Regions from separate parts of the Homo sapiens genome. Here region 1 is linked to region 2. Evidence: promoter capture Hi-C in human tissues and cell types (Jung and others, 2019). All regions are on one chromosome and are shown on one strand. The core of a region is centred on a gene start or on the middle of the fragment in contact, and the rest is flanking DNA. Distances in the headings are between cores, read along the strand shown. Region 1 has its middle 20 kb from the start of AKR1E2. Region 2 holds the start of KLF6 (KLF transcription factor 6).

Region 1 (2,788 bases), core at 69-2,568, 1.0 Mb before region 2:
CTCTAATAAATAAATAAATAAATAAATAAATAAATATCAGTTGCATGTTAATGTGCTAGCAATGAACAATTTGAAATTGAAATTTCAAGACTGCCATTTTAATAGCACCAAAAACCTAAAATAATTATGATGTATAAATGTAACAAACTCTGTGAATGACCTGTATGTCAAAAAATTTAAAAAAAAGTATGAAAGAAACATTGATTAAAGACCACCTAAAAAGACATGAAGATGTTCTCTAGTCATGATCTGGAAGACTCAAGTGATATTGTCATTTCTCCCCAAATTAATTTATAGAATTAATGCAATTTGAATCAACATGACACGTGATTTTTAAAATAAGAGTTGACACAGTGCTTCTAAAATTTAGTAAAAATTCAAAAGAATAACCCAAACCACACTGAAAAAGGGAGAACATAATTGGAGGGCTCACGCTACCTGGCTCAAGGCTCACTGTAAAGCTGCAGTAGTCAAGTCAGTGTGGCATTAGCAGAAGGATAGACACCTGAATGAATGAAACTGAAAAGAGTCCAGAAATAGACTTGCTAAATATTGTCAATTGATTTTCTACAAAGCTTTGCAAAGGCAATTCAATTGAGAAAGGAAAGTCTTTGTAGTAATCGATGCTGGGATATTCGTATGCATAAAAATTGCACTTTGACCCATATCTTGCACTGTATAGAAAAATTAACTCAAAATAGATTATAGACTTAAATATTAAAACATATAAAGTTTGTTTTTAAAATTGCTTTAAGTTCCAGGATACATGTGCAGAACATGCAGGTTTGTTACATAGGTACACGTGTGCCATGGTGGTTTGCTGTACCTATTGACTTGTCCTGTATGTTTCCTCCCCTTGCTCCCCGTCCCCCAACAGGCCCTGGTGTGTGTTGTTCCCCTCCCTGTGTCCATGTGTTCTCATTGTTCGACTCGTACTTATGAGTGAGAACATGCAGTGTTTGGTTTTCTGTTCCTGTGTTAGTTTGCTGAGAATGATGGCTTCCAGGTTTATCCATGTCCCTACAAAGGACATGATCTCATTCCTTTTTGTGGCTGAATAGTATTCCATGGTGTATATGTGCCACATTTTCTTTATCCAGTCTATCACTGATGGGCATTCGGGTTGGTTCCAAGTCTTTGCTATTGTGAATAGTGCTGCAGTAAATATACATGTGCGTGTGTCTTTATAGTAGAATGATTTATATTCCTTTGGGTATATACCCAGGAATGGGATTGGTGGGTCAAATGATAATTCTGGTTCTAGATCCTTGAGGAATCACCACACTGTTTTCCAAAATTGTTAAACTAATTTACATTCCCACCAACAGTTTAAAAGCCTTCCTATTCCTCCACAGCCTTGCCGGCATCTATTGTTTCTTGACTTTTTAATAATCGCCATTCTGACTGGCGTGAGATGGTATATCATTGTGGTTTTGACATATAAAATTTCTAGAAGTAAACTTGATGACCGTAAGTTCAGCAAAGAGTTCTTAGATATAAGAATAAAAACACTGTCCTTGAAAGAAAAGGTCAAATATAATTAATCAAAATTAAGAAATCCTGCCTTTTGAAAGACCCTGTTAAGAAAATGTAAAGACAAGCCAAACACTATGAGAAAATACTAGCAAAACATATATTTAATCAATAAGTAACATTCAAAATATATAATAAACTTTGAAAATTCAATAGTGAAGAAAGAGAGCAATAAAAATTGGGCAAAATATTTGATAAGACATTTCACCAAGATATATGAATAGAAAATAAACGTGAAAAGATGCTGAATATTCTTAATTATTACAGGAATTCAAATTAAACCACAATAAGATACTACTACACCTCTATTAGAATAATCAAAATAAAAAAGCACTGGCTACATAAGTGTCAGCAAAGATGCTGACCAAACAGAACTCTCCTCTATTGCTGGTAGAAATGCCAATGGTATAGTCACTTTGGAAAAAAACATTTAAAGTGGCTTTGTTTGTAATCCTCCCTGGAAACTGGAAACATGAAGAGACCTTTCTACCATATTCACACATTTACCCACTTCCAATCTTTATTTTACTAGGAATCTTTTAATGATAAACATATTCCAAATAAGGACCAATAAGGATTTTGAATATTAAAAAGTAGAGGTTTTTAAATTCTGAGGATTAGTGATAATGTACATGTTGGCACATATGTATTTTATTTTTACCTGTATACACTTTCTTATTCTTCTGCAAATCAAAGTATACATTAACCCTGAGACCCCAGCTCCTTCATTTCATCCTCACGTGATAAACTCTGGGAAAACTTTAAAACACATTTACAAAGGACATGATTGCAACTTTTGCATGCTCTTTCAGCAGAGCTAAATTCAGGATATAATTATTTTCTTTAAAAATTCGGTTGACTCAACATATTTTCTAAAGAGGAAATTCCAAGGCATTGAAAAACACATCTGTGTTATACAGAAAACATTTTCTAAGCAGGAAAAGTCTTTCTGACTATGCAAAATATCATCAGATTTTCAATTGCATGTTATCTCTATCCAAAGACTCCTTTTCCTTGAGTCAGTATGGTTTAGAAACATGGGCAAGCAAGTCATGGTAATGTCAGAAGCTTAGCCAAACTACTATGAAAAACAGATACTGTATTAAGGGATTTTCTTGGGACAAAACAGCAGCTTTTTAAGTCAGCTCTGCATCTCTGGTTTGCACGGTTAGGCTTGATAATGGCACGCGTCTCAAAAGCCCGAGATGAGCGATGCCTTCGCTGCTCCTCATAGACGTACTACCAACCACTGGTA
Region 2 (2,700 bases), core at 150-2,649:
CACGAGCCAAGAACACTGTCAATTCACTCTGCATAACCTTCACCGCCCACATACCGCAGGTACAAGACAAACCTCCTTTCTCCACTCCAGACTCACTAAGGTCCCCACCTAGTCTTACAGCCACATGCTTCTGCCGGACCCTCTAAAACTTAACATACAAAACCCTCTAATTTTTTTTTACATAGTCCATTCTTTCAAAATGTTTAATGTTCATTAAACTATTTTGAAACAAAAACTATAATACAGTTACAATTCAGTTTTCCATTTTGGATTTTAAAATGCTCTGGTTCGAGTCTCGACATTTTTCTTAAAAATGAACATTACGGTATATTTTAGGAGATAATTTATATGGAAAAAAACACACACACTAAATGTCGGCTTGCACCTAAATTGTTTACACGTTCATGGGAAAACCTAGCTGTTAACCTTGGTGAGGGCTAAGATCGCCCTCTACAAGATAAACACGTTTCTCCCAATTCCAAGGGGAGCCTGCGTGCTCCCCTCCCCCACTCTGGTGGCCCGGAGGACAGAGGGGACCCTAGGACTGGAGGGGGACGGAGACGGGCTCAGGGATGGAGGGGGACAGAGAGGGACCCGGAGGTGGAGGAGGACAGAGAGGGGTACCCCAAGGTTAGAGAACAGAGGATGACTAGGGGGATGTAGGGAAACAGAGCGGCGCAGAAGAGGACAGTTGGGGACGGGGCGGCCCCGGGCATAGAAGGGGACAGTTGGCGACCGGGAAGCCCCCGGCGTAGAAGGGGACAGTTGGGGACGGGGCGGCCTCGGGCATAGAAGGGGACGGGGGGGAACCGGGCGGCCCCGGGACCGGACGGCCGCCCGCAGGGTGAGCTGCCGGAACCGGGGCTCGCGCGGCGACAGGGCCCGGCTTGGTGACCGGGACGGGCGTGGGGTGGCGGGACCGGGCAGCGGGGAAGAGAGACCGGGACTGGGGACAGGCGACGCGGCCCGCCCCGGCTCTCCCAGCCCCGGCTCCCTTAGCTCCGGCCGCGGGCGCAGTGCAGGGCTCGGCCGCGCACCTCACAGCGCGGACTCCTCCGGCGCGCGGCCGCCCGCGCCTTATATACCCTGCTAAAAATAGCCTGCGAGGCCACTTTCCAATCAGAACGAGCAGAGTTCGAATTGAGCCAATGGTGCGGGCCGTGATGGAGAGTCTCGGTCACGCCAGGCGGGGCCGCTGTGTGTCGCCGCCTGCGATTGGCCGGAGCTGACATCATCGGCGCGCAGCCCCCGGGCCGGGAGCCACGGGATTGGGCCGCGCACGGGGCGGGCGCGGGGCGAGTCACGTGGGGGGAGGGGGAGTGGGGGGAGCCAGGCGGGGGCGGAGGGGGAGGCTGGCAGCGGAGCTTTGAATAGGGAAGTTTTGCAGGGGTTACGTTTGCAGTCAGTCCGGTGTTTGCAAATATTGTGTGGGCTCCGCGCGCTGCGGGCTGCGGGAGGGTCCGGCCGGGCGTCTCTGCGAGCCTGGAGTTTGCATGAAACTTTCACCTGCGCTCCGGGGAGACTTTCGGCTCCGGCTCCCACCGCGCGCCTCGCCGCCCTCGCGACCGCGGGCTCCGTCCAACCCGGCCCGACATGGACGTGCTCCCCATGTGCAGCATCTTCCAGGAGCTCCAGATCGTGCACGAGACCGGCTACTTCTCGGCGCTGCCGTCTCTGGAGGAGTACTGGCAACAGGTAAACGCAGCCGGCCGCGGTTCCCTGCGGGCGCCGGGGCGCGGGCCGGGTCGGCTGTTTGGGGTTCAGACCCGGTGCTCTCTGCGGTCCGCTGGGCCTGGGCCCCGCGCTGTCACCGGGGGAGCGGGCGCAGCGCCCCCGCCGATCGATCCTCCAGGCTGCGATCAGCGTCCGCCCAGGGAAGCCCCAACTCCCGGCACAGCCCGGCCGAGCCCCTGGCACGAGTTCGGAGCCTGTCCCCGCTCCAGACGCCACAGCTGGAGCTTGTCATGGGGACCAACTTGCTCTGCCTGCCAAGGTGTTTTTTTTTTGTTTGTTTGTTTTTTGTTGTTTTTTTTTAACGGATTTTGTTTTTGTTTTGTTTCTTGGTGCTTGTACTTAACAGTTTTTTAAAAAAATCACATTTTGCCCCCAGAACGTAGACCAGCTCTCTTTTATTTTTGTCTTTTTTAAACTGTAGACCATTTCCAATGTGTTTTCTGCTCTTTGGAATGCCTAACATTTCCCCTAGATCTGCCTTATTTGTCTTCCCTGCTTCTCTTGTTGACCAAGAAAAATAAAAATAAAACTGTGTACACCCCAGTGACTTGTCAGTCTTGTGACAATGAGCCCGTCCAAACTGCTTCAAGTCTTAGTTTGGAAAGAAGGACCTCGGTTTCCGACATTGTCGTAGAACTGGAATTTGGGGGCATTGGAAATTTAAGAAACTTACCAGGTCCCCGTGCTTATAGGTAGCATCGCCCGAGGGGAGAGAGACTGACACTCCTCCCATTGTCTCTCCAGCGATCGCAGGAGGGTTTACTGTTGTCTCCCTGCCCTGCTGTGCTGTTTGTTTTTCGTCACAAAGTGAATTGCCAGATCAAATAGAGGCTGTGGGTTTCCAAGCCTCGAAAGCTTTAAGGAAGATGAAATGCAGGGTGTTGCAACCTTCACACGCCTGCTTAATTGTTCACAGTCCTCTCCTGCCTTTTCCCCCTCCCCCTCCTGTTTTTTTCCTCCTCAAAG

Evidence for each region. The method cuts DNA at HindIII sites, captures the fragments that hold promoters and counts their contacts. A contact is called where the count stands out against the background at its distance.
Region 1: a contact is called between a fragment that was not itself captured here and the fragment with the promoter of KLF6 in region 2, in 1 of the 25 tissues and cell types used here (IMR-90 fibroblasts).

The regions. Positions count from the first base shown.
Region 1 is chr10:4,804,415-4,807,202 of GRCh38, reverse strand. No RefSeq gene overlaps it. Among named protein-coding and RNA genes, the nearest start is that of AKR1E2, 20 kb to the left of the region's middle. The HindIII fragment of the contact is 6,184 bases long and covers 1-2,788 here.
Region 2 is chr10:3,783,908-3,786,607 of GRCh38, reverse strand. It overlaps KLF6 (KLF transcription factor 6), which reads left to right and starts at 1,399. Exons shown (of 4, transcript NM_001300.6): 1 at 1,399-1,695. The coding sequence starts at 1,594. RefSeq lists silencers at 490-549, 730-1,009, 1,260-1,859, a promoter at 661-1,598 and enhancers at 1,465-2,020, 2,021-2,577, 2,578-2,700. The HindIII fragment of the contact is 14,996 bases long and covers 1-2,700 here.